Linked DNA regions of Homo sapiens: all the other regions are linked to region 1. The links are contacts of gene promoters, found by promoter capture Hi-C in human tissues and cell types (Jung and others, 2019). All regions are on one chromosome and are shown on one strand. Each heading gives the region's core, a stretch centred on a gene start or on the middle of the fragment in contact. The rest is flanking DNA. Distances are from core to core; before and after follow the strand shown.

Region 1 (7,081 bases), core at 2,407-4,906:
CAGCCCCACAGTAGTTACCTCACCCAGAAGCTTGCAGAAAGGCTGAAAGAAGCTGAATGAAAATGACTGCAGAAAAGGGAGGGAGGGAGGGAGGGAAGGAAGGAGGGACAGATAGAAAGCCCAGATGGCAGTGACTCTCTATCGCACGCCTCCTGGCCTGACAGTCCACGTCCAGCAGACAGTCACGCACCCCAGCACCCGCATGTTTAGAAAGTGCAAAAAGAACAATGGAGAAAATAAAGATATGAGCAGAACTAAATAAAAATGTTTAACACATACAACAAACAGAATCAACAAAATCAAAAGCTGGTCTTTCAAAAGACAAAGAAAATCAACAATATTTAGCAAAACCAATGAGGAAAAAAAGGGTCGGGCAGGAGAAAGAGCATGTATAACCTGAAGCAGGGATGAAAAACGGCAAATAGGCTGGGCACGGTGGCTCACGCCTGTAATCCCAGCACCGTGGGAGGCCAAGGCAGGTGGATCACCTGAAGCCAGGAGTTCGAGACCAGGCTGGCCAACATGGCAAAACCCTATCTCTACTAAAAATACAAAAATTAGCCAGGCATGATAGCAGGTGCCTATAATCCCAGCTACTCGGGAGGCTAAGGCAGGAGAATTACTTGAACCCGGGAGGCAGAGGTTGTGGTGAGCCGAGATCACACCACTGTACTCCAGCCTGGGTGACAGAGTGAGACCCTGCCATAAAAAAAAAAGAAAGAAAAGAAAGCAAATAATGACAAATTTAGCAGCTATTAAAAATAACAGGCTACTAAGCCAGGCGTGGTGGCACACGGTAGGGATTTGTAGTAGTCAAATGTGGTAGTCTGTAGTAGTCCCAGCTACTTCAGAGGCTGAGGACCACTTGAGGCCAGGCGTGAGTTCGAGACTGCAGTGAGCTATGATGGTGCCTGTGAACGGCCACTGCACCCCAGCCTGGACAACATAGCAAGATCCCATCTTCAAAAACAGAGGCAACTATGAAAAGTACATCCCAATAAATTTGAAAAACTTAGAATAAATGACATCTATGTTAAGAAGAAACACAGGAGGATGAGGCAGGAGAATTGCTTGAACTCGGAGGCAGAGGTTGCAGTGAGCCGAGATCACACCACTGCACTCCAGCCTGCGCAACAGAGCGAGACTCTGTCTCAAAAAAAAAAAAAAAAAAAAGAAGAAGAAGAAGAAGAAGAAACAAAAGGCTGGGCGCTGTGGCTCTCGCCTGTAATCCCAGCACTTTGGGAGGCTGAGGCAGGTGGATCATGAGGTCAGGAGACCAGCCTGGCCAACACGGTGAAACCCTGTCTCTACTAAAAATACAAAAATTAGCTGGGTGTGGTGGCACGTGCCTGTAATCCCAGGGGAGACTGAAGCAGGAGAATTGCTCAAACCAGGGAGTCAGAGGCTGCAGTGAGCCGAGACCATGCCACTGCACTCCAGCCTGGCAACAGAGCAAGACTCCATCTCAAAATAAAAGAATCCAGAAAATTCAAAGAACTTCAGACACCAATAAAAATAATAATGATCTTGGCCAGGTGTGGTGGCTCACACCTGTAATCCCAGCACTCTGGGAGGCCGAGGTGGGTGGATCACTTGAGGTCAGGAGTTCAAGACCAGCCTGACCAACATGGTGAAACCTTGACTCTACTAAAAATACAAAAATTAGCCAGGTGTGGTAGCACATGCCCGTAATCCCAGATACTCGGGAGGCTGAGGCAGGAGAATTGCTCGAGCATGGAAAGCGGAGGTTGCAGTGAGCCGAAATCGCACCATTGCGCTACAGCCTGGGAGACAGAGCAAGACTCTCCATCTCAAAAATTAATAATAATAACTATCTCAATTTTGTAAAGTGGGCCAAGGACGTGAAATTAACGAGACTCTAATGACAGGTGACCATATGGAAAGAGGCACAGCATGGCTAGTAACCAGGAAGAGGGAATATTAAACCACAGTGTGTAACACTGTGTTACACACCCACATGAAGGGTGTAAGTTGACAGTTGCAAGTTTTGGTGGGGGTGCCAGGAAACAGGAGCTCTCTGGCAATGCTGGTTGGACAGCAGCTGGCTGGGGGGATCCCTTGGGAAGACAGCTTGGTAACAAGAACCTCCTGACTTTCAGGCACCCACACCTGCAGGAGGGGTTTTGGGCAAGAAAGTTGCAGCTTGCTTGAAATAGCAACAAAAAGGAAACAAAAGGTCCATCAACAAGTAAATGGATAAGTCAATGTATATTTAGAAATCAGAGAAAACAAATAAATTAAAACCATATGTATCCCTAGAGAAAATCTCTTTAGCCTAACACCTATTTTTTTCAAAAGCAATTTACAGAAAGAGAAATACAGTGTAATACCCATTACATAAAGTTTTCAGCATGTAAAATTTTTTTTTCTTTTTTCTTTTCTTTTTTTTTTTTTTTTTTTGAGATAGAGTCTCACTCTGTTGCCCAGGCTGGAGTGCAATGGCGTGATTTCAGCTCACTGCAACCACTGCCTCCCAGGTTCAAGCGATTCTCCTGCCTCAGCCTCCCGAATAGCTGGGATTACAGGCACATGCCACCATACCTGGTTAATTTTTGTATTTTTAGTAAAGACGAGGTTTCACCATGTTAGTGAGGCTGGTCTCAAACTCCTGGACTCAAATGATCCGCCCACCTCAGCCTCCCAAAGTGCTGAAATTACAGGTGTGAGCCACCGCGCCTGGCCACAAAACATTTTTAAAGGAACATACATATTAAGTAGGAGTGTGAGGACCTTCATGAGAGTGGTGAATTCCAAATTCAAGAAATTATTAGGGTGGGACAGAAACAATATGGAGAGATGGAGGAACAGAGACTTCATTTATTTATGCCATTTTTTCCCAAGTTGAGTAGGGTTTTTTTTTACATTTTTTAAATATATTACTCTTTATACCATCGTTCAACTAAAATAGATCACTTTTTTTTTTTTTTTGAGACAGAGTCCCGCTCTGTTGCCCACACTAGAGTGCAGTGGTGTGATCTCTGCTCACTGCAACCTTCACCTCTGGGTTCAAGCCATTCTCCTGCCTCAGCCTCCCAAGTAGCTGGAGTTACAAGCATGCACCACCATGCCTGGCTAATTTTTGTATTTTTAGTAGAGATGGGGTTTTGCCATGTTGGGCAGGCTGGTCTCCAACTCCTGACCTCAAATGATCCACCTGCCTCGGCCTCCCAAAGTGCTGGGATTACAGATGTGAGCCACCACACCCAGTTAATTTTTGTGTTTTTAGTAGACACGAGATTTCACCATTTTGGCCAGGCTGGTCTCCAACCCCTCACCTCAAGTGATCCACCTGCCTAGGCCTCCCAAAGTGCTGAGATTACAGGTGTGAGCCACCATGCCCAGCCTAAAATAGATGCTTTTGTAAATCCAGTGTGACTCTGGAGTCAACAGGGAGAGGCTAGACCCTTGGGGGCCTCCATTAAGTCTGGACACAGATTCAGCAAGAGAGCAGCAGCCCACTGAGCAGCCCATACACCAAGGGGCGGATTTCTAGAGGAAACAAGAAAAAGGGGCCCTAAAAATGGCACAAACAGGAACCAGGAAATGTGTGCCCAGCCTCACACATGACCCTGGGCAGGGATATAAAGGGTCCAGGCTCAGGGAGCTCCACACCTGCACCTCCCTCTCACCTGCTCCTCTACCTGCTCCACCCTCAATCCACCAGAACCATGGGCTGTTGCGGCTGCTCCGGAGGCTGTGGCTCCAGCTGTGGGGGCTGTGGCTCCGGCTGTGGGGGCTGTGGCTCCGGCTGTGGGGGCTGTGGCTCTGGCTGTGGAGGTTCTGGCTCCAGCTGCTGTGTGCCCGTCTGCTGCTGCAAGCCCGTGTGCTGCCGTGTGCCAACCTGTTCCTGCTCCAGCTGTGGCAAAGGGGGCTGTGGCTCTTCTGGGGGCTCCAAGGGGGGCTGTGGCTCCTGTGGAGGCTGCAAGGGGGGCTGTGGCTCTTGTGGGGGATCCAAGGGGGGTTGTGGCTCCTGTGGGGGCTCCAAGGGGGGCTGTGGCTCTTGTGGGGGATCCAAGGGTGGCTGTGGTTCCGGCTGTGGGGGATGTGGCTCCAGCTGCTGTGTGCCTGTCTGCTGCTGCAAGCCCATGTGCTGCTGTGTGCCAGCTTGTTCCTGCTCCAGCTGTGGCAAAGGGGGCTGTGGCTCCTGTGGGTGCTCCAAGGGGGCCTGTGGTTCTTGTGGGGGCTCCAAGGGGGGCTGTGGCTCCTGTGGAGGCTGCAAGGGGGGCTGCGGTTCTTGTGGGGGATCCAAGGGGGGTTGTGGCTCCGGCTGTGGGGGCTGTGGCTCCGGCTGCGGTGTGCCCGTGTGTTGCTGTTCCTGTTCCAGTTGTGGCTCTTGCGCGGGGTCTAAGGGAGGCTGCGGGTCATCCTGCTCCCAGTGCAGTTGCTGTAAGCCCTGCTGCTGTTCCTCAGGCTGTGGGTCATCCTGTTGCCAATCCAGCTGCTGCAAGCCCTGCTGCTCCCAGTCCAGTTGCTGTGTCCCCGTGTGCTGCCAGTGCAAGATCTGATTTCTGGCTTTGCAGGACTCTTACCATGGCCAGGCATTCCTGCCCAGCCTTTACCTCCTTTTCCTGGCACCCAGTGAGCCAGACTCTCCTTCCCCACCCACTACCCTATCTCCCACCCTCCTGCCTTGCCAAGCATGAACACTTCTCTTTGACCTTCTACCAAGAAATGCCATGGGCCCATGCATCCAAGAAGAATGACTTTCAAGGCCTCCCTTCCAGGCATCTGGAGACCAGCCCCCCACCGCCCCAGCCACCTGCAGCAAATGCCTATCCGCAAGCCCTGCCTGCTGGCACCACATCCAGCACGGACAGCCCTGCAGGACAGCCCAGGGTGCTTGCTCACTCTGCAGTCACTAGGAGTTCAGATCTCTGTCCTTTAAACATCCAATAAACCGCTCACCCCAGCACCCCATAGCTGTCTTGGTATATTTATGTTTATTTCCCTCTCGAGGCAGGTGGGGGGCATCTGTGGCTACACTGGGTCCCCTGGGAACCACACACACACACACACACACACACACACACACACACACCGGCCCTGAACCAAACCGGAGCAGGCAGGTGGGCGCCCTGGCCAGCAGGGATCCTGGATACATGGTGGCGGTCAGAGGCAGGAGCACCAGCAGCCACCTGGCTCAGCCCCTTGCCGTGCAGCCTCTACCACACCCTCTCAGCATCTGGCTCAGGGCGGGGGTGCCTTGCCTTGATCAGGCAAAAGCAATCACTAGGGGGTCATCATGGCCTGTTACCACGCGGTCTTATTCTCTTTGGGCTGATGTAACAGAACACCATGGACTGGCATGTACAACAGAAGTGTATTTCTCAGGGTTCTGGAAGCTGGCAGTCTGAATTAAAGATGCCGGCGGCCAGGTGCGGTGGCTCATGCCTGTAATCCCAGCACTTTGGGAGGCCGAGGGGGGCGGATCACCAGGTCAGGAGATTGAGACCATCCTGGCTAACACGGTGAAACCCCCCTCTCTACTAAAAATACAAAAATTTAGCCGGGCATGGTGGCAGGCGCCTGTAGTCCCAGCTACTCAGGAGACTGAGGCAGGAGAATGGTGTGAACCCGGGAGGCGGAGGCTGCAGTGAGCCGAGATCGCGCCACTGCACTCCAGCCTGGGCTACAGAGCAAGATTCCGTCTCAAAAAAAACAAAAAACAAACAAAAAAAGCCAGAAGAATGCAAATATGACATTCCAGAGGGGATGTATATGGAAGGTCAGCAATCCCATTGCAGCAACCAGAGAAGGCCACATTAATTACAGAACTCAGATGGTAAAATAAATAAATAAATAAATAAATAAATAAATAAATAAATAACTTCAGGAAATCCTACCGTATGTATCTTACCACAATTTTTTTTTTCTGAGATGGAGTCTCACTCTGTTGCCCAGGCTGGAGTGCAGTAGTGTGATCTCCACTCACTGCAACCTCTGCCTCCTGGGTTCAAGCTATTCTCCTGCCTCAGCCTCCTGAGTTTCTGGGACTACAGGCATGAGCCACCATGCCCAGCTAATTTTGTTTTGTTTGTATTTTTAGTAGAGATGGGGTTTCACCATGTTGGCCAGGCTGGTCTCAAACTCCTGACCTCAAGTGATCTACCTGCCTCACCCTCCCAAAGTGCTGGGATTATAGGCGTCAGCCACTGCATCCGGCCCACAATTTTGAAATACCGGAAAAATGTATCTATAAAAAAGACATTGGAGAACTGTAGAAGCAACAAGAACCAGATGAAAACATTCAGAGAGAGCCCTTCCAAGATGAGCTGAATGTCGGCTTCTCTCCCTTTAAGGAATTAACCAGTGCTGGGTATGAGCTGAGCCTCGGTCCCACTGGGGAAGAGGAATTCTACTGGGAGAAATACCCAGCAGGGCTCTTGGCAACCACAGGGGCTGGAGCAGAAAACTGGGACATTTGCAAATTTCTGGGGAGGCTAAGAAGTGAGGCCTGAGGCCTCCGCAGGTGCGCTGAAGTCTCGCATAGCCTTGTGGAGCTTAGTACACAGAGCTTTTCTAGAGGAAGGGGTCCTGCCCCAGGCACAGGTTAATCTGGCCCTTAAGACATTTTCCAAATTTTGAAGCTGCCTGAGCAGACAACTAAAGAGCTAAGCCTGTACCTCAGGGAAAGAAGTGACTCTCTGACAGCCTGTCAGGGATAAGAAGACACGGACTGGCCAGGCTCTTAACCAAAACTCCAGGAAAGCCACACAGAGGGACGATTGACTGAAGTGGCCCAATCCCTAACTGAGCGGGTAGACGAAATGTTCAGCTCCTCTCCCTGTCTGCACTAGAGAGGGAGGCCACGTGCTCACTGTTGGAAGAGAGCAGCTAGACCCCCACAGTCCTTAGATGGAGACCCCCACGGTCCCGAGATATAGACCTCCACGGTCCTTAGATACAGACCCCCATGGTCCTGAGATATGGAGCCCCACGGTCCTGAGATATAGACCCCCACGGTCCCGAGATACAGACCGCCACAGTCCTTAGATATAGACTCCCACAGTCCCTAGATATAGACCCCCACGGTCCCTAGACACAGATCCCTACGGTCCCT
Region 2 (7,081 bases), core at 2,531-5,030, 52 kb after region 1:
CCTTCAACTAGCTGTCAGTCTGGGATTGGGGAAATGTGTTATTTTTGACTATTTCTTGATATTTTTAATTAATTCAAAGCACTCACTGTCAGCCAAGTAGTTAGTTTGGAATACAGGTCTCTTACGTTTTAAAAGTTTTTGTTTAAAGAAAGGATTTCTTTGAATTAGTTCATCTCAGATGACAAAGTATGGACTTGACAGTAGCAGCAAACAGTGCCTTTGCCTGCCGTGTTCTCTTCTGATCACCGGAAGAGTGTTCTGTGGATGTGCAAGTGAAAAGCCATGTCTTCCTTGTCACTGGGAGAAGAGCTAAGAGCCTGGCCTGCTGAGCATTCTAGCAGCCTTATCATCAGCACTCCTAGCCGCTCCTGAGGAACGGGGGCCCTGCAGGGAAACCTGCTCGGGAAACCGGAACAGAGCCCAGCACGTCAGGACTGGTGATGATGAGCGTGGCTGGGGCTTTTCCGGAGAAGGTTTGCAGGCATGGCTCTCCACCATCTCTTTCTCGTAGGTTTCCTTTGCTTGGCATTGCTTTGAGTTTGCTGGTGAAGTAGCTGTAAAGGTAAACTTTTTTTTCTCTCTTTCTTCCTTTTACAAAGAGTAATTTGTAACTTGAAAGCGGTTTCCACTTTTTGTATACAAGCTCTGTTCCATTCTGGGCAGCCAGTGACAGGATGTCATCCCGCGCCACTGAGTTGTAGGCAGGTGGAGAGGAGAAGCTTGAGCTGCGGTGGTTTCTGTGGAGGCTAGGGAAGGGAGGAACTCTACCACACACTGTTTGGAGTTTAGGAGAAACTTTTGTCTTGTCTTCAACTGACAACAGGCATTTGTGAAGAGGTGTGTGTGCAGTCAGTGTTACCCAACGGAACGCACAGCCCAGGAGCAGCTGAGCATCTGGGAATACAGGAGAGGAAACACACTTCCTCCCCTCCCGACTGATGGGAATGTAGCCGCCCTCCTGCTGGCCCTGCACAGGGCCCAGTGTGGTGGAGTTTGTGGGGAAAGGCCCCTCTCCTCCAGGCACCTTCTCTGGCTGGCCACAGCCAGGGCAAGGGGGCACGTATCTCAGGCACCCTTCCTTGGGGCTCTCCTGGCTCCTTCTGAGGCCGCACGGTGCCTTGACACCAGTGCCCTGGTTACTCTCCAAGCAGCAGGTGAACTGTGGGTTAGCGGGCTCGGGCTGTGGCACCACAGTGCTGGTGATTGAATACAGACTGCAGGTGAATGGGGAGGGCCTCTCTGGGGCCGCTGGCCTGTGCTTACTGACTCAGCTCTGATTGAAGACAGACTGCAGGTGAGTGGGGAGGGCCTCTTTGGGGCTGCTAGCTTGTGCTTACTAACTTGGCTCTCCCAGCTGCCTTCAGGGGTCCTCCTCTCTGACCGAGATAAAATCTCGTGAGTGTGTGTCTCTGCAGGAATGTGAATGGAGTGATGATGACCTTGTTTTTCTTCTTTCTTTTCTTTGCCGCATGGGAGGATGTTACTGGTGGTTGACAATTGATTCTGATTATGAGGACACCCAGGCTGAACTTGCTTGAATCTCTAGAGTTCTTTTAACAGCCTCATTGAGGTATAATTTACATACCATAAAGTTAACTTAAGTTTGCAATTAAATAATTTTTGGTAAAATTACAGGGCTGAGTAACCATCACCACAGTTTAATTTGAGAACTTTGCTATCATGCCCCAGAGAAGCCTCATGTCCACTGGCACTGCTCCCCATCCCCACCTCCAGCCTCGAGGCGGCCACCAGTCTCCCGCCATCTGTGTGGGTGAGCTGAATCATGCAAATGGAATCCCAGTACACGGGCTGTGTGCCTGTCCTATGCGGCGCAGTGTTGCGAACGTCCATCCATGGCGTTGCGTGTGTCTGCAGCTCCGTCCTCTTCATCACCAAGTGCAATTCCGTCCTGGGGAGATGTGCATCTGCCACTCTCCTTCCACCACTGATCCGCGGTTTGTGACTGTGACTTTTAGGACAGTGAGCTGGGCCTGTTCCTCAGCCGGGGGCCCCAGATTCCTGAGTTCATGGGCTGCCGTGTACCAGGCTCTGTGCTGGGGCGGAGGTCCAGAGATGGAGACACAGCCATTCCCGCTTTCCTAGAGCTGTCAGGCTGGTAGAGAAGGGCCCCAGGCAGCAGGAGAATTGAGGAGTGGGTGAGTGCGGCCAAAAGCAGGGGGCTCGGTTAGAGCAGGTATGAAGGGCTTTTCCAAGAGGGAAGGAGGAAGGAGGTGGCCCAGGAAGAAGCAGCAGCACATGCGGAGGTGTGAGCAGAGAAGCCGGCTGGCCCAGGTCTGCTGTATCTCCAGCGGGCAGCCCTGGAAGGTCTGGTTTCAGGAATAGCCTCTTTCCATCAGGGCTCCACCAGGGCACTCTTAGGCCTGGGTTTCAGAGGTGTTTGCCTAGGGTGGTGTTGCATTCAGAGTCCTCTTCTTTAAAAAAAAGTTTTCCATCATCCCTCCCGTTTCCAAATTAACCTTAAAAAGAGCAGTGGTCGGCCAGGTGCAGTGGCTCACGCCTGTAGTCTCAGCAGTTTGGGAGGCCGAGGCGGGCGGATCACGAGGTCAGGAGGTTGAGACCATCCTGGCTAACACGGTGAAACCCCGTCTCTACTAAAAATACAAAAAATTAGCCGGTCGTGGTGGCGTGTGCCTGTAATCCCAGCTGCTCGGAAGGCTGAGGCAGGAAAGTCACTTGAACCCGGGACGTGGAGGTTGCAGTAAGTGGGGATGGCGCCACTGCACTCCAGTCTGGGTGACAGAGTGAGGCTCCATCTCAAAAAAAAAAAAAAGCAGTGGTCGTGGATACATGGAGCCCTTTTTAGAATGAGCCTCCCCGTAAACCCCTAGCGACACCCCTCCCATTTCTCCTGCTCGGACTGACTACTAGGAACCCTTGCACAAGTGTCCTTGAAGCTGGGGGTGAGCCCACCAGGGGAGCTGCAGACGGCCTCCCCTGGTCGGGGGCTGGTAGACAGCAGGGCTGCGTTTCTCATCACGAGTGTATCTGAGACAGCGCAGCCCCCACCTTTGCCACCACCAAGTGCCACCCTTGTGTCCTGGCTCATGAGGGCCTCTTCCCAGCCCTGGGAAAGCCAGCCACCCTAGGGGTCTGCCTGCCAAGTGCTGCTGTCAGATCGAGCAGGGGCTTGGTGTACCACCAGACCCCCTCTCCAGAGGAAGCTGTGGTCTCTGCTGCGGTCATCCGGTACGGGAGGAGGGGTGTTGAGGCCACTGTGAGGGAGGACCCCTGTGCCATGCCCCTGTCACCCCAGTGTTTCTCCTTTGTCCACACAGCGGTCTGGGTTAGAAACACCAGGGCCCACTGCAACTTTTGTTAGGGCCACTTAGTGCTGGTTGGGAGCCACAGGGCCGTGGCCTTTGTTTCTCCGTGGTGATTACTGCTTGTGCAGCCTCCTGCCAGTGCTAGACCTGTCTGGAAGGGAAGGGCGTGTGCTGTTCCCGTCTGTCTTTGGCCAGAAGAGCCTCCCATTCTTTGCCTTCACCATGTTTGTTTTTTTCTGCACAGGATTTCTCCTGGCTGGGGCACACCCATTGGTGTTCAGTGGAAGTAGAAACAATTGGAACAAACAAAATGTGGAAGCTTAAAGAGAAAAGAAGGAGATGGTGGGCAGGGCTTCCAGGCCACGTGTGATCTGTGGCACTGCTTGGCCTGTGGACTGTGGCCACAGTCGCGTTGCTGTCCCTGGCTCCCTTCTCTTTGAAGGTCTCCTTTGCCAGCGCACACGGCTCCCTGGGCTGGAATGTCTGTTCATTCATCCCTGCAGTTGTTTGCGGATGTCCCGGGGCTAACGTGAGTTAGTTAATGTGAGTGAGTTAAGTGCCGCAGCTCCTGTTTTTCGCCCTGCGTGGTGGTGATTTTGGTCTGTGTCATCGAGCATTTCGCTGTGGTGGGCGGGGAGGCAAAGAGCTCCCACAAAGGTATGCAGCTTTTCCCTGCAGAAAGCAGGCAAGCTGGAGGGTTGGAAAGCATGGAGGCACCATGCTGTTTCCCTTTTGCCCGTGACCTTTGCGGGTTGGGAGACTTTTCTTCCAAGCACCCTTTCAGCAGCGCCTTTTCCCCTCCAGACATGGTGGCTGTGCAGGCTGTGGGCTGGCAGACCCTATCCCCACAGCAATGCAATCTCAGGAGCCCAGGTGGGGCTGTTGTCTCGGGGTTTGGCCTGCACCGTCTACGGAAGCTCCTAACTCCTGCTTTGCTGGGACTTGTCCTCAGCCCATGGAAAGGCCTGATGGTGCCAGGTGGCCCTGAGGAGCCAGATGCCTGAGCCTGGGGCCAGGCCTGGGCGTGAGCCCAGGAGCATAAAATTAGCTCCGGCGTGGGTTGAAAGCTGCTGGCGTGAGCATGGCTTGTCTGTGTTGAGTTTGTCTTGCACAGCCCTGGCCTCTCCCCACAGCCTGCGGCCAGCCCTCTACATGGGCGGCCGCTCTGGGTTCCTCCTCCCGGCACATCTGCCCTTCTGCTGCGTGCCCTGTTCTTTGTGCCACATGTGACAGGACCATTTGTCATAGCAGTGGTGTCATGAAATACAAGAGTGTGGGCCTGAGAATCTGGGTTGAGTCAGGTTCCTGTTGGAGGCCTGCATGCGCGCAGCCTGCTCTGAGTGCTCCGGACACGCGTGAACAGAGGCAACAGGAGCCACCCCTGGGCAGCTTCCCCACTGCCGAGGGGGACGGGAGTAAGGAGGTGTGGGATGGGGTGCCTGGAGGGGGTGCGTGGGAGAGCTGTTTGAATAGGAGCTCTAGAAGGCCTCTTTGAGAAGGTGCTGTTGAGCTGAGACCTGCGGAGGTGAGGGAGGGGACTCGCCATGCAGGCCTATGGAGGGAGCCCTGGCTCCCTGGTGCTTTGTCTCAGAAGGGCTGCCTTTGCCTCCTCCCCCTCATGGTTCCAGGGACACGTGGGTTTTTATTTAATATTTTTCAGTCGATTGTCGTCTTTAATAATATTTTGATGAATGGGCTGTGTCAAATTTAGCCAGCAGGAGCGCATGTGACTCAGCTCCCGTATCAGTTGAATAGACGAAGGGGCAGGGAGGGAAGCCTCTGTGAGCAGGAACTGGTGAGCCTGGCTGTGTATCACCTGGATAACCTCTGAGCTGAAGAGCTGTGCCAGCAAAGCCCTTGAGCTCATGTGGGCATGGGGGACAGTCTGAGGACAGGAGGAACAGCAAGGAGACCTCAGGCTGCGCTCAGGAGGCTTCGGTGGCAGGTCAGATTGCTCTTACAATTTGGCAACCATCTTATGAATATTGTGGGTTAAAAGAAATAATCAGTGTCACCGGTAGCCAAGTTTTTAATGTTAAAAAAGATGACAATATAGAATAAAATGAACCCCTGCAGGGTTCCGTGGGGAGTATTACCATGAGAGCATCATTCTGTGCGTAGGCTGTGCTCCCTGCCAGCGGTGGGCTTCCCAGCAGGCGGCCTTGGCTCTGCGTGTGACATGCTCAGCCTGCAGCACCGTGTGCCCTCCTGAGCAGCTCTGCTCTGGTGGATGCTCTCAGCAGAAAACACACAACTTCGTGGTCCCCTCTTCTGCCCCTGGGTGGGCCAGGGTGCGGGTGTGCATCCCATGCCCAGGACTGCCAGGCAGGCCGCATGGTCAGCCACCAGGGTCAGGTGTCAGGCGCTGCTCCAGACGCGTGCGTCTCTGATCTTGGGCATGGCTCAGCAGCCTCCGGCTTGGCCGTGGGTGGTTCCTGCTCACCTGTTTCTGAGTGACCAACCCTGAAACTTCTGGGCCTAACATGAGGCCTCATCACCTTTCCCGCATCTGTGGGCTGGTGGGTGGGGCTCTGGCCCCACAGGTTATTCCTGCACTGCCACCCGTGGTGGCTGGGCTGGCAGCCCTCAGGGGCCTTGCTGTCATGGGTGTCTGCTGGGGTGCCACAGTTTCCCCCACATGGATCTCTCCAGGCAGAGTTTTATATCCTCACCCTAGAGCAGAGTTTTTGGACTTCTTGCTCTCAGGACCCCTTAAAGTCCTTGTTGAGGCTGGGCATGGTGGCTTCTGCCTGTAATCCCAGCACTTTGGGAGGCCAAGGTGGGAGGATCACTTGAGACTGGGAGTTCAGGACCAGCCTGAGCAACATAGGGAAACCCCATCTGTACAAAAAAGTAAAAAGAATTAGCCAGATGTGATGGTGTATGCCTCTAGTTCCAGTTGTTTGGGAGGCTGAGGCGGGAGGATTGCTTGAACCCAAGAGGCTGAGGCTGCGGTGAGCTCTGCACCGCTGCACTCCAGTCTCAGTGATAGTGAGACCCTGCCTCTAAAATTAAAAAAAAAGTCCTTATTGAGTTTACATGATGGAGCTATGAATATTCATCTTTCAGAAATTAAAATTGAGAATGTAAAACAACTTTAATTCATTTAGAAATAATTAAAAACCCAGTATATCTTAACATAAGTAATATTTTTAAAATTAAAAAAAAAACCTATTATCTTCTAGAGTCAAATAAATAGAGTGGCTTTACTTTTTGCAAATCTCGAGAGCTGGATCTGTCAGGTTCTGTGTTTATCCTGCTGTAATTTTACAGGCCAGGTGGCTTCCACAAGGCTTTGGCACATGGCACCTTTGTGGTACTGTAAAGACAGTGCTAACCTCATGGTCCCAGACCACACTTTGGGCTCTAGGACTCCCCACGTGGCCTCTCTTTGCCTCTGCCGGGACGGCCTTCATCCCAGGAGAGCCATCATGAAAATGGCTGGAAGACAATACATCCTTTCAGCCACCTTCTGTTGGTCAGGGAGTCACGGAGCCACCTGGATCTGGGGGTGGGAGTGGTTAAGAGTGGACAGCCTGCCTCTGGATGGAGGAGGGCTCTAGGAGGCCCTGGTCCTCCTGCCTCCTTCAGGAGGCCCTGGCTGGTCACCTCAGAGACCAAGGCCTTTTCTCTCTCCCTCTAACTTCTGGGCAGGGCTCGGCCCTCCTCACGGGCTACCTTCCTCTTCCTGCCATTTAGTTTTCCTCCCAGGGCGTGCAGCCCGGCACTACTGTGGGCCATGGGGTTGTGCAGGTGGGGCAGGTGCTGTCTCCGGGTACCACCGAGGGCTGCCGAGG
Region 3 (7,081 bases), core at 2,525-5,024, 44 kb before region 1:
CAAGGCATGAAGCCTTCTAAGTGTGGGAACTTGTGTGTTTGTGGGAGCTGCATGCCCATGCAGCAGGCTCTGGGACTGAGGCAGGAAAATACGGTCTGGAGGCAGGGAACATAAGGCGGATTCGCACTTCAGCTATGACAGGACATGTCCTCCCCATGGGCACACAGCGAACAAATGACTTTGTAACTTCATTCTCTTCATTTACATAGGGCGGACCTCCAGTACAGGGTATTTAAACTCACAAAAACTCTTTAACGGGGCCCTTATAATAGTATAAAGCACATCTCTGGGTGGAGATTTAAGATGCTAATGAGACATGAATGGTATGAACAAGCGTGTACAGCTACTGCACACATGCACCCAGAGGACCACCCAGAACATGCTTCCTAGCAACACCTCTTCCCAGCTCCTTAGGAATAATCATGGAAGAGTCCCATAAAGGGAGCCTCCCTCAGGCCGGTCTCTGCTTCTCATCCTTGTGAGCAGCCCGCCCTGCACCCTGTCTCGCCCAGGGCATCCTGTCTGTTCTGCACCTCACTTCCACAACATTCTTTCTCCTTTGCAATGAATTCCGCTCGGCTGCTCCCACACTGTGGAGTGCACTTTCCTTCTCAATAAATCCCAGCTTTTGCTCTCCTCGCTTTATTTGTGCGTTTTGTCCAATTCTTTGTTTGAGAAGCCAAGATCCTGGACACCCTCCCTGGGTACAGTAACAGGGCTACAGAAGCCTTAGTGGGGGGATAATTGAGGGGGGAAAAGGCAGGAAGTAGGCGAGCCCCACCCACAGAGTCTCCACCCCCTCCTCCGGTCCTGTCTACACTGCATGAGCTAGAAGATAAAAATGTCAATTCCAAGGCCAGGGTGAGAATGAGGTCCTGCCAATCGAATGCCTTTCCCCAGGTCTGGAAGGGAAGGCAGGCAGAGGCCCATGCCAGGGCTCAAGTGCTGCTGCGCATGAGGGCGAGCTGTGCACCTGTGGCTTCCGCTGCAGCTGGTCACCTGCTTCCCCAGAGAAAGGCTTGGGTAGACGCACACCCCAGTGCTGTCACCAGCCTGTGGACGCCCTGAGGTGGCTGTGGCAGAGGTGGCGGTGAGGTGGCTCCCTGTCCCTGGACCACATGGCAGGTGCACTGGAGCTCAGGGTTCCAGGACAGCTTGGAAACCTGAGGTCTCCAGGGGCCCCTGCTGTGGACAGCTGGAGTCCTTCCAGGAAGTCCAGGTCCCAGAGCTGCCATCGAGAACATAAGCTTCTGATTTCCACTCTAGATCCCCCCGACAGAAAATACCCTGAATGACTGCTTTTCCTGCTCTGACTGAGCCACCGCTTGTACTCGCTTCCTGGGGCAGCCCTAACAAAGGACCACAAATGACAGAAACATCCCTCTCCCAATCCTGGGGGCCAGAAGTCTGAGATGCAGGGGTGGGCAGGGCTGGTTCCTTCTGGGGCTGCAACAGAGCCTCTGTTCTGGTCTCTTCTAGCTTCTGGGTCTTGCTGGCAACCCTTGGTCCTCTGTGACTTATAGAAGCATCACCCCAACCTCTACCTTCATCTTCACGTAACGTCCTAATGTCCATCAATGACAGACTGGATAAAGAAAATGTGGTACTTATACACCATGGAATACTGTGCAGCCATCAAAAAGAATGAGATCATGTCCTTTGCAGGGACATGAATGGAGCTGGAGGTCAATATCCTTCACAAACTAATGCAGGAACAGAAAACCAAATATCGCGTGTTCCCACTTATGAGTCAGACCTGAGCACTGAGTACATAGGAACACAAGGGAACAACAGCACTGTGGTGCATTTGGCGGGGGTGGCGGGGGCAGGAGGAGGGTGAGGATCAAAAAGTCACCTATTGGGTACTATGCTCATTACCTGGTTGATGAAATAATCTATACACCAAACCCCCATGACATGCAATTCATCTATATGGCAAGCCTGCACATGCAGCCCTGAACCCAAAATAAAAGCTGAAAGAAAGCTTGTCTCCAGGCTAGGTTGCCTTAGAAGGCACTGGGCATTTGGGCTCCCCCAGCTCTGGAATTTTTTTTTGGAGGTGGGGATCTATTCAACTCCCGGCTGCCTTCGAGCTTGTGTCCCGCAGCTGGCGTTGTGTGCAGTCCTGCCTTCTCCTGTCTGGTTTTTCAAGGCCCTGTGAGATTGCAGATAAGCCCAAGCTCCTCCGCATCTCCACGTCTGGCTCCTGCATGCACTAGGGGCTTCTTAGGGCCTGATGTACCGCACAGCTCAGCATACAGACCCTTCCTCATCCTTCCGCTGAAGTGGCCTGGCCCTGAGCTTCCCTCCCTCCCACGGGACGGCAGTGCCTCCACGGCTGACACCACCGCCCTCACCACCTTTCCCTCTCCCCACCTCTCCCCACATACCAGACTGTGAGCTTGGATTTACTCTGCTCTGTCATCTCTGGAGCCCAACACAACAAGGGGCCCAGAGCAGAAAGCTATAGACGTTAGTTCTGTGCATGAAGACATGGACCATGACATGAAAGATGCTGAGGGGAGAGAAATGGGAACAGGCCCAGGGGTGGAGGCAAGAAGATGGTGCTTCTGGGAATGAGAGAGAGGTGGGAAGGAGAGAACCACAAGACAGTGAGCTTTGTGCTTAGAGACTTTGTTTATTTAGAGGGTCAGGATTCAGTCTTGATATACAGACAGCCAGAGAGATTGAGGGTCGATCACACTCCTGAAAGAAGGAGCAGCTGTCAGGGTCTAAGGGGTCTGATCTGCCTCTGGGGCCTCAGTGGGCCGCTTTGGATCTTAAATGAGTGAGGAGCAGGGAGAGGAAGTTCAGGAGAAGTAGTAGGCAATGAGCCAGAAGGGGTCCTCAGTCAGTTTCGGGAGCACTGGTGTGGAGTGGATGAAGCCAGTGAGGACACAGTGGAGACAGTGGAGCACCAGAGAACCCAGGGCAAGGAAGCTGGGCAGCCGGGCCCTTCACCAGTCAGGCCACCTGCAGTCTGCAGTCAGAGCCTCAGATCTTACACTGGCAGCACACGGGGACACAGCAGCTGGACTGGCAGCAGCAGGGCTTGTAGCAGCTGGATTGGCAGCAGGATGATCCACAGCCTGAGAAGCAGCTACAGGGCTTACAGCAGCTGGACTGGCAGCAGTAGGGCTTACAGCAGCTGGACTGGCAGCAGTAAGGCTTACAGCAGCTGGACTGGCAGCAGGATGACCCACAGCCTGAGGAGCAGCAGCAGGGCTTGCAGCAGCTGGACTGGGAGCAGCCATAAGAACCACAGCCCCCCTTGGACCCCCCACAGGAGCCACAGCCCCCCTTGGACCCCCCACAGGAGCCACAGCCCCCCTTGGACCCCCCACAGGAGCCACAGCCCCCCTTGGACCCCCCACAGGAGCCACAGGCCCCCTTGGACACCCCACAGGAGACACAGCCTCTCTTGGAGCCCCCGCAAGAGCCACAGCCCCCTTTGCCACAGCTGGAGCAGGAACAAGCTGGCACACAGCAGCACATGGGCTTGCAGCAGCAGACAGGCACACAGCAGCCGGAGCCACATCCCCCACAGCCCGCACAGCCGGAGCCACAGCCCCCACAGCCTCCACAGCCGGAGCCACAGCCCCCACAGCCAGAGCCACAGCCTCCACAGCCGGAGCCACAGCCCCCACAGCCGGAGCCACGGCCTCCACAGCCGGAGCCACAGCCTCCGGAGCAGCCACAGCAGCCCATGGTTCTGGTGGATTGAGGGTGGAGCAGGTAGAGGAGCAGGTGAGAGGGAGGTGCAGGTGTGGAGCCCCCTGAGCCCGGGCTCTTTATATCCCTGTCCAGGGTCAGGTGAGAGGCTGGGCACACTGTCACTTCCTGGTTCCTGCTTGTGCCACTGGTCCCAGTATTCTCTTCTGCTTTACATTTTTATAAATAACTCCTGTTTTCCTCGCACTTTTCTCGAATGTGCTGTCAGGTCTGTGATGGAAGCGGCCCCTCAGTAAACACTGGCCCCGCGGTGAGTTTCCCTTTCCATGTGACAAGAAGGAAGCGATGGGCAGGCAGTGGCTCGCTCAGAGGCCTTGGTCTTGCCGAGGGTGATTTTGAGCCCAGGACTCCTGGCTTGCTCCCGGGAAGATTCCTCTGCGGGAGCATCGTGTCTTGCTTGGGACGTGCCTAGGCCCTACACCTTCACGGTCCACAGCAGCTCCTGGCCCGCGGGCTGTTTCCAAGGGTCCCAGGACCTGGGGCTTCAGCCCTCAGCTCAGCAGGGTCGTTTTCGGTGTAAGACTTTGTTGGAAGGTTTGCAGTGTTGACTGAGACGGGGATTTTAAGCGCTTATTCTGGAGCTTGCTGCGTGCTCCCCATGGAAAGTGTTCTCCTGTGATAACCGCGGTCTCTTCCAGGGCTTTCAGACCACTCGGGTGGCAGGGCTGACAGATACAGTACAGGATGCCTGCTGGAACTTGAATTTCAGATCATCGAAGGCTGCCTTTTGAGGAAGGAAATCCAAGCATTGCAAGGGGCAGACACTGCCTCTGCGCTGGGTCAGGACCCAGATCGCATTGTCTCCTGCAGCGGTTCCTCCTGCCGCCGCACGGTGTCGCTGTGAAGCGGGTTCCCCCACTGCGTGGCCGGCCCAGGGGCTCCCGGACAGCGGCACAGGCTGATGGCAGAGGCCCTTTCAGGGCCAGTGAGCGGAAGAGGATGCCCTGTCTGGGTGCCCGCCTGCTCCGGGTCCCGGGCTCAGCCTGGGAAGCAGCAACTACATTCGGGTGCAGGCCCACTGGATGCTAAAGAAAGCCGGTGGAGAGCAGGGAACCGGATGGCCATTTGCCCCCGTGACCACAATACCTGTGAGTGCCCCGAGCCCAGTCAACAGGCCTCAGGCCACGGTGTAAACACCAGCTGGCACTCGGTGACTCTTGCCGTGTATGCTGGAGCCCCACTCTGTTCTGGGGCAGGGGACTGTATCTCAGGGAGGAACAGAAAACCCATTAGGAGAGAGCCGCCTTGTGTTGGCTGTCCCCACCAGAGGCGGCATCCTCCAGCTCTGGAACAGAGGCAACAGATACATTTGCTTCCTGATACATTCGCATCCAGCGCCTGATACATTCGCATCCAGCGCCTGATACGTTCGCATCCAGCGCCTGATACATTCGCATCCAGCGCCTGATACATTCGCATCCAGCGCCTGATACATTCGCATCCAGTGCCTGATACATTTGCATCCAGCGCCTGATACATTTGTCCCAGTGCTTGATACATTTGCTTCCAGTACCTCGTATATTTGCCTCCAGCCCCTGAAGTAATGTATCAACACCCGCGCTGACTCCTAGTGACACCCTTGGATCAGCTCCTTCCCTCGGGTACAAGAGGACTTTTCCTTTTGTACTTTGGGAACATCTTCCCTTTCATGGGCCTTTGTTCTTCGTGGTCCATTGATGACCTTCGGGTTCGCTGAATTGGGCAAAGAGGATCATCAGAGGGCCTCTTACAATGCTCTGATGGAACAATCAACATGGCAGTGGTCTCACCCTGTCCCGTGGGGCACCCCACGATTATGTAGCTTTTGAGCAAATGCCCCCTGAAATGTGTGTATTATATAAGGTGCATATGCTCCTGTCTAGTCATTTGCTATTTTAATTTTAGTTAATTTTAATTTTTTTCACCTTTTCAGCGTAAAGCAGACATGAGTATGTTGTAGACTTTGCTCCTGTGCTCCACATTAGGAACTACCTCTGCAGACCCATTCTTAACTACTGTGGGTTCGTAGATTCCTCTGTGGAATTTTACAGAGCCTCTCTTTAAACAAGTCTACAAACATGCACAAAAACACACAACTTTACATAAAACTGTGCAGTATCCAGACAGGATCTGATGTCCACCTGTATCTGTAGGCTCCAGATCAAGAACCCAACAGAAAAGGGGGCACCAGGTAAGAGAGAGCTGGAAGGATTTCTCCTCCTAAAACGAGCTAGGCTGACCCCACAGATTTTCACTCCTCCACCACCTGAAACCACACTCAGATGAGAGGAAGGCTCAGGGGCGGTTTTTCCTGGGATAGTAAAGTGCTGGCTGATGCCGCACAGCAGAGAAGGCTCCAGCAGAAGGACTTGCAGAAGAAGCAACAAGGAGAAGGCCAGCAGCACAGTATGTTTCTCGCGACGAAGACGGCAGACAGCATGATGGCACGGGGCTTGGAGGCTAGGACATGAAGGGTGGTACAACACTTGCCTCTCTCTCTGTCTCTCTCTGTCTCTCTGTCTCTCTCTCTCTCTCTCTCTCAGTACTACTCCTTCTGGGTGAAGCCAGATCCTGTGCCAATAGCAGCCCTGTGGAGAGGCCTGCAGGTGAGAAGCTGAGGCCTCCCACCCACAAGCCAAGGCATGTACCATCCTGGAAGTGGGTCCAATACCAGCCGAGCCTTCAGGGGATGCAGCCTCAGACCCCCAGCCAGAACCACCCAGGAACATTTGGGGCCTGACAGAGAAGAATGAAAAGGGCTGTGTGTGGGTGCTCACATCTGCAATCCCAGCATTTTGGGAGGCTGAGGTGGGAGGATCACTTGAGCCCAGGAGTTTGAGACCAGTCTGGGTAACATAGTGATATCTCATCTCTACAAAAATGTACAAAAATTAGCTGGGCCTGTGAGCGCACACCTGTAGTCCCAGCTACTCGGGAGGCTGAGGTGGGAGGATTTCTTGAGCCCAGGAGGTCGAGGCTGCAGGGAGCTATGATTGCACCACTGCACTCCAGCCTGGGTGACAGAGCTTGACTCTGTCTCAAAAAAGAAAAAAAAGAAAAAAGAAAAAGGTAAGGCCAGTAAAACACAAGAAAATTTTAACTTCATTTCGTTATTAACAAATACACACAATTTCTGAATCAAATATTAAAGACTCCAATATGATTATTTAAAAATAGCAAGTCATAAGTAGGGTTTGTTCCAAGAATGTTAAGATGGCTCACCGTCAGGAAATGTATCATTGTAACTCATTACAAAAGTGCCTTGAGGGAGAGAATTCACACGTCCACCTCAGCAGGTGTAACAATTAGCTATGGCGTGCCTGACCATGAGCTGAGGGACAGAAGTGTCTTCTTCAAATTGATAATTTCC
Region 4 (7,081 bases), core at 2,306-4,805, 35 kb after region 1:
TTACAGGCACGTGCCATCACACTTGGCTAATTTTTGTATTTTTAGTAGAGATGGGGTTGCACCATGTTGGCCAGGCTGGTCTCAATCTCACTGACCTCAAGTGATCCGCTTGCTTTGGCCTCCCAAAGTGCTGGGATTACAGGTGTGAGCCACCGTGCCTGGCCTCCAACCAGCTTTTCAAATCTTAAGTAATGTGCATGTCATACAAGGATTAAAAGCACACCAGGGTATGTGGTAGAAAGTACTGGTTTGTCTCCCCCAGGCTTGTCCCCAGCCTCCAGGGTCCTCTCCCTGGAGGCAGCCCCAGCCCGGCCTGCAGAGCCCCGCCTCCCCCCCCCCCACCCCCCACCGAGGGCAGACCTGGCTGCTGCAGGTGCCACAGGCTGCAAAGATTCACAGTGTGCGTGCAGCCCGGGCTGAGGCTTGTCTACACTGTGGCGGAGGATACCAGATCTGTCCTTACCACACAGACCTGGTTCATGCAGCTTCTTCCAGGTTTAGTATACCTCTCCCAGGGACCCCTCCCAACCAGTGATGCTGTCCAGACCGTGTGTGTGAGTGCTCATGAGACAGGAGGAAGAGGAAGCAAGAGAGGGGAAGAGGAGGGGGCCAGTCCCTCCTCGGGGGCTGCAGGAGGAGGTAGGGTCCTTGAATCCTGCATCTTTAAGAGTCCTCAAAAAGGAGGAAAGCTAGAAACATAGTCTGATGCTCCCGCAAGGCTATTTTTGGCTCAAGAACATCTATTTATAACTCAGGCAGCCCCCAGCAGTCAATAAAACTGAGGCCTGGAAAGAGCTGATGGCTGACTCAAGCAGCACCGAGGTGCTCCCTTACCCCCTGTGCGCAGGAGCACCTGCAGCTCCAGCAGGTGGGTGACGGCCTCTCCTAGGATGCCCATCTGGGGCACATAGGTCTCAGGACCCTGGGGGCAGTGTAAGACTCCAGATGGAAGGAGGGGGTCTCATTTACCAACTCAATCAGGCTCCTAGTGGTCCAAGAGCTGCCCAAAGTAGGCGGTGAAGCAAGAGTTGAACACTGGTGGACTGGCCTCCAACTGCTACGTAGAGTCCCCTAAAGGCTTGTTGCCCTGCCTACAGCTGTGTCTCCCCCCAGGACAAGAGCTTTAGTTGCTGGATGGGTCTTGGATGGGTGGGTAGATGGGTGGATGAGGGAGGGAGACATGGATGGATGGATAGGTGAATTTATGGATGGGCAGATGGATGAATGGTGGATGGATGGATGGGTGCATGGATGGGTGGGTAGAAGGGCAGATGGATGAATGGGTAGAGGGATGCGTGGGGTGGGTGGGTGGGTAGATGGATGGATGGATGGATCAATGAATGGGTGGATGGGTGGGCAGATGGATGAATGGGTAGAGGGATGAGTGGGGTGGATGGGTGGATGGATCAATAGGTGGAGGGATAAATGGGATGGGTGGATGGATGGATAGAGGGGCAGATGGATGAATGGGTGGAGAGGGATGAGTGGGGTGGATGGATGGATGGATGGATGGATGGGCAAATGGATGAATGGGTAGAGGGATGAGTGGGGTGGGCGGGTGGATGGATGGATGGGCAGATGGATGAATGGGTAGAGGGATGAGTGGGGTGGGTGGGTGGATGGATGGATGGATGGGCAGATGAATGAATGGGTAGAGGGATGAGTGGGGTGGGCAGGTGGGTGGACGGATGGATGGATGGGCAGATGGATGAATGGGTAGAGGGATGAATGGGGTGGGTGGATGGATGGATGGATGGGCAGATGGATGAATGGGTAGAGGGATGAGTGGGGTGGATGGGTGGGTGGATGGATGGATGGATGGGCAGATGGATGAATGGGTAGAGGGATGAGTGGGGTGGGTGGGTGGATGGATGGATGGGCAGATGGATGAATGGGTAGAGGGATGAGTGGGGTGGGTGGGTGGATGGATGGATGAGCAAATGGATGAATGGGTAGAGGGATGAGTGGGGTGGGTGGTTGGATGGATGGATAGGCAGATGATGAATGGGTAGAGGGATGAGTGGGGTGGATGGGTGGGTGGATGGATGGATGGATGGGCAGATGGACGAATGGGTAGAGGGATGAGTGGGGTGGGTGGGTGGATGGATGGATGGATGGGCAGATGAATGAATGGGTAGAGGGATGAGTGGGGTGGGCGGGTGGGTGGATGGATGGATGGGCAGATGGATGAATGGGTAGAGGGATGAATGGGGTGGGTGGATGGATGGATGGATGGATGGGCAGATGGATGAATGGGTAGAGGGATGAGTGGGGTGGATGGGTGGGTGGATGGATGGATGGATGGGCAGATGGATGAATGGGTAGATGGATGAGTGGGGTGGATGGGTGGGTGGATGGATGGATGGATGGATGGGCAGATGGATGAATGGGTAGAGGGATGAGTGGGGTGGGTGGGTGGATGGATGGATGGATGGGCAGATGGATGAATGGGTAGAGGGATGAGTGGGGTGGATGGGTGGGTGGATGGATGGATGGATGAGCAAATGGATGAATGGGTAGAGGGATGAGTGGGGTGGGTGGGTGGATGGATGGATGGGCAGATGGATGAATGGGTAGAGGGATGAGTGGGGTGGGTGGATGGATGGATGGATGGATGGGCAGATGGATGAATGGGTAGAGGGATGAGTGGGGTGGGTGGGTGGATGGATGGATACGTGGGCAGATGGATGAATGGGTAGAGGGATGAGTGGGGTGGATGGGTGGGTGGATGGATGGATGGATGAGCAAATGGATGAATGGGTAGAGGGATGAGTGGGGTGGGTGGGTGGATGGATGGATGGGCAGATGGATGAATGGGTAGAGGGATGAGTGGGGTGGGTGGGTACATGGATGAATGGGTGGAGGAATGAATAGGATGGATGGATGGATGAATACATAAATGGGTATTCATAAATAGGCAAGTAGATGTGTGGCTAGGGAGTAGAAGGAAAGGAAGGTGGACAGATGGATGGACGGGTGGAGAAGTGATGGGGTGGATAGGAGGTGGAAGAATGGGTAAATGAGAGGGAGGGAGGGAGCGAAGGTGGGTGGGTAATAATGTTACATTGCGTTAGTTGCACTTCTGTTAGTCTTACATTAAAGCCAGCTTGTGCTTACCTCCATTCTCCATTGGACTGCAGATGGGTACCTGGTCTTTGCATACAGAAGGTACCCAGTGAATGTCCAATGAATAAGCCACATACTAACTGTCTTGGAGTGGGACATCACAGGAGAGACCCTCTCCAAGGCCCAGGGAGAGGAACAGGCTTGGTCAATGTCCCTTAGAGGGTCAGGGGCCAAGTTGGGGCTGGGCTTGGTTCCTGGTCTCTCAGGCACCATTCCTCTGCCTGCCGAGCCATCCCTGGAAGTAAGCTGGAGGCTGGTCTCAGTGGCACCCCTGCCAGCTGCCACTGTACTCCTGTGGATGGACTTACCAAGGCCCTTCCGGAGCTCAGAACTGAAGAGACTGAGCAGGAGAAAGGGCAGAGGGCCAGTTCTCAGGAAGCCTTTCAGGAGGAGAGTTTTGGCCTCTGAAGGCCAGGTTGTGTTTGGAGGGGCTGGGGGCAGGTGGGGCAGGAGGACATTGCAAAGGTCCACAGCATGGGAGAAAAGGCAGAGGTAGGAGCGCCCTGCGGGGAGCCAGGCAGAAGCTGAAGGCCTCTGGCCAAGGCAAGGCCCGACGGGAAGAGGGTGCATCTCGATGGGGCTCTGAATGGCAGGTGGGTTGGGGGAGTGTCTAAGAAGAGTGGTTCTTTGTGGGCAAGATGAAGGGAGGACTTGCTGTTAAGGGGAAGCCATGGAGTCTTTGAGGGGCCTATACAATGGACACCAGCAGAGGGTGCCCCAACCTCCCCGGAAGGGCGCAGGGCACAGGGCAGGGCGGGCCCTGGACAGAGGGTGGGAGAGGAGGGGCTGATTCTCAGCAGAGCTTCACAACAAATGCCTTGTGTCCATGGTGGGAGCACGTGGGGAAACTCAATTATCCCTGCAGGCAGCTGGGGCTCGGCGGCACAGTCCCTCCAGAGAAAGCACAGCCTTCTGGCCCAGGGGTGAGGGTCTAGACCTGTAAGGCAGCCCACAGTCCCAGGCCCCACTCCTGCCCCTGGGAATGGGTCTCCTGGGGTAGGAGCCTCTGTGGAAGACACTAGGCCCTGAAGGCGTGATGATGGCTTGTTTGTGAAGCGAGTGGTCCCTGACTGTGGGGACCAGAGCTCAGAGGGGATCCTGGTGGGGCGAGGGGAACATGCGTGTGCCTCCCACCCCCAAGCAGGGCGATGCCAGGGCAGGCCTTTGCCAAACACTAGGCAAGTGCCTGGGTGGATGCCCTTCAGTCCTTCCAAACTGAGCAGGTAGACTTGTCTTGCTTCAGAACCCTTCAATGTCCCCCTCCAGAGGGGCTGGGTTGGGGGTGGCCTCAGGGAGGGAAGGGGTATGGGAGCTGAACTGGAGTTGAGTGAGAATGCTGGGGAGAGGGAGGCCTCAGTAGTGGGGTGAGAGGAGAGGAACTCAGTGAAGGGCCTTCATTCTGGAAGGTGGGCGGGGGGAGGGGGACGGGTGCTAGGTCCAGGGGCATCTCTCCCAGTCTTTGCAGACACCACCCATGAAACCAAGGAACAGTGGCCTGTCCCCAGGCAGCTCCCAGGAGGAAGCTCTGGGAAGGAAAGGGGAAGACGCCGCTTACCCCTTCCCCGCCAGGAATTCTGCTGCCCCCCCCCCCCACCAAGTCCAGTGCCCTCCCACTCTGCCCCAGCACATGCGCCCTCATGGCTGAGCGCACCTGCAGAACGCACTCCCGCCCCCCACACACCTGGGGCCTCCGACCAGGACAGCGCAGGGCAGGTGACTACCCAGGAAGGGTAGGGGAATGTAGGGGGACTGGTGGCACCGTTGGCATCGCCGGCCGAAGCCTGCCCCTGACTGACGCAATTGCCGGCCGGTCGCAGCTATAAATAGCCAAGGAGAGCTGGAAATAGAAGCCAGGGAAGGGCCAGAGGCGGGTGGAGGGAGGAGCTTGGGCTTGAGCACCTGATGCCAGAGGAGGAAAACAAAACTCCATTCTAGGGCTCCCCTCCCTCATCCCACCCCAGCCCAGAGGGGCGTTTGCACCCGGAAACGTTTGGGGAAGCAGGGTGAAGTCAAGAACCTGCCCAACAGTGGGCGGGGCCTCCCTGCCGCGAGGGTCGGGGCGCGTGGAGCCTGCGCTGGCCACAGCCCGCGGTCTTCGGCTCTGGGTCATCTGCGGGGCAGTGGCCCCTCCTGATATCCGCCCGCCCCCACTCCCAAGCAGAAAGAGATTCCGGTGCCTCTCCACCCTCCCCACCCCACTCCCTCCGTCAAGCCCCTGGCCCAGGAGACCCCCGACAGCCCTGGAACACAGGGCCGATTGGCGAGATCAGTGGACACTAGGCCTGCCCAGAGCCTAGCCGGTGGGGGCGGCGTCCTGGGGGTGGGAGGGGGGCTTGTGGGGCAGTTTCCATATCTTCCTCGCCCAACCCAATCCTTCGGCCAGCGGCAGGAATGGGGCTCAGAGACTTTGCCGGCCTGGGGCAGGGCGCACTGCAGCCAGTGTGGAAGCCAGACCCAAACCGGACGGTCCCGGTGCCTGGTTCTGCTCGGTCACCTCTTGCCCACCTACCCAGCGGGCGCTCACAAGCTGGGGGCCCAAAAGAGGAACAGAAAACCAGAGGACTGGGGGGGCTTTGAGGCTGAAGGGCGAAGGCCCTTCCCGGACACCCTTGAGCCCTCCACCCTGAGCCCCTAGCAGCGCCAGGGAGTGACTTCAGTCCGGGTTCCTACTGTGGGGCCTCCGCCTCTCGGAGGGCATTAGGGCTGGCAAGGCGCGGCCGATGGGGCCCTTCGCCTGTGTGGACCGTAACAAGAAACTCCAGGAGGGGCAGGATTGAGGGCAGTAGGACGGGGTTGGTGTGGGCGAGGGGAGGTTTGGGTCCCCCCACCTCTCCGGGCAGCTGGTGGCGGCCCCGCCCTCCCTGAGGGCAAGGAACCCGCAGCCGGGAGGACGGCGGCTGCAGGCCAGTGTAGGGTGGGCGCGGTCCCATTAGAGCGGGCGGGGTCCGCCAGGATGGGCGGTGAGGTCAGCCCCGACGTAGGGGGCCCAGAGCATCGCTGGGTGGCTCGGGTGGCACCGGCGTCCGGGCCGCCAACCCCGCAGGAAGCGCCCAGTCACAATCCCGCCCCAGGGCTCCTCCACGCCCCGCCGCCCAGAGCCCAGAACCTGCCCAACCTGCGCGCGCCGCGGGGCGCAGCCGGGGGCTCCGAGGACCGGGAGGCAGGCGCGGGGGGTGCGCCAGCTGCTCGCGATGACCTCACGCCCGGCGGGGCCGCGCCCACTCCCAGACTGCCCTCCGCGGCGCTCTCCATCCGCAAAGCGCCGCTGCTCCTCGGCTCCCGCGTCCTGCGCGCCCCTCGCGGGTCCGGGTCCCCAGGCACTGCTGGCGTGGAGGGCGGGCGCGGGGAGCAGCTGCTCCGCTCCGAGCACGTGGGCAGCGCGGCTCCGGGTCCGGGGCCTAGGTGGGCAAACACCTGTCCCGCATGGGCGGGGCGAGCGCCCCTCCGGAGCCCGCCTGTCCGGCCCGGGGAACGTAGTATGAGCTCTTCTCCCGCCTCGGGCTTCGACTTGGGCTCGCCCGCCACCCCCACCCGGCGCTCCCCGAACCCGAGGCGGAGCGCAGCCCGGCAGCGCCATCTGCTGCCCGCGCCCGCCGAGGCTGGGGCCGGTTCTCGGGCCGGGGGCCCTGCACGCACGCCCACCCGTCGGGAACCCACCTGCTGGGAGGAAGGCACAGCCCTGTCTCCACCCCGCGCCCCCAGCCCACCCTCCTTCTAAGGCCCTCCCCTTGGTCCTTCGGCTGCCTCAGCTGTACCCACAACCTGCACCTGCTCTGGGCTTGCGGGTCCCGCAGGAAGGTCGCCCACACCGCGGCCCCAGGGACTCAGGCAGTCAGTGACCAGCTGTGTCTCCAGCCAGGTTTTCTCCCTGTCCTCCAGACCGGGCAATGCCAAATGGCAGCGGCCACCTGCGTCTGACTAGGCCCCCATCCCAACGCCTCCAACCCCCTTCGCG

The links. Contacts are between HindIII fragments. The study calls those that stand out against the background at their distance.
Region 2: a fragment that was not itself captured here is called in contact with the fragment with the promoter of KRTAP5-1 in region 1 in 1 of the 25 tissues and cell types used here (mesenchymal stem cells).
Region 3: a contact is called between the fragment with the promoter of KRTAP5-5 here and the fragment with the promoter of KRTAP5-1 in region 1, in 1 of the 25 tissues and cell types used here (mesenchymal stem cells).
Region 4: a contact is called between a fragment that was not itself captured here and the fragment with the promoter of KRTAP5-1 in region 1, in 1 of the 25 tissues and cell types used here (mesenchymal stem cells).

What each region holds. Positions count from the first base shown.
Region 1 is chr11:1,581,858-1,588,938 of GRCh38, reverse strand. KRTAP5-1 (keratin associated protein 5-1) reads left to right here and starts at 3,656. Exons shown (of 1, transcript NM_001005922.1): 1 at 3,656-4,597. The coding sequence starts at 3,690. The coding sequence ends at 4,526. All of the region lies in intron 1 of KRTAP5-AS1 (KRTAP5-1/KRTAP5-2 antisense RNA 1), which reads right to left. The HindIII fragment of the contact is 15,838 bases long and covers 1-7,081 here.
Region 2 is chr11:1,529,581-1,536,661 of GRCh38, reverse strand. No RefSeq gene overlaps it. Among named protein-coding and RNA genes, the nearest start is that of DUSP8, 39 kb to the left of the region's middle. RefSeq lists an enhancer at 4,142-4,642. The HindIII fragment of the contact is 3,238 bases long and covers 2,162-5,399 here.
Region 3 is chr11:1,626,468-1,633,548 of GRCh38, reverse strand. It overlaps KRTAP5-5 (keratin associated protein 5-5), which reads right to left and starts at 3,774. Exons shown (of 1, transcript NM_001001480.3): 1 at 2,619-3,774. The coding sequence starts at 3,708. The coding sequence ends at 2,995. RefSeq lists an enhancer at 539-1,038. The HindIII fragment of the contact is 7,029 bases long and covers 1,617-7,081 here.
Region 4 is chr11:1,546,404-1,553,484 of GRCh38, reverse strand. No RefSeq gene overlaps it. Among named protein-coding and RNA genes, the nearest start is that of DUSP8, 22 kb to the left of the region's middle. The HindIII fragment of the contact is 8,025 bases long and covers 1-7,081 here.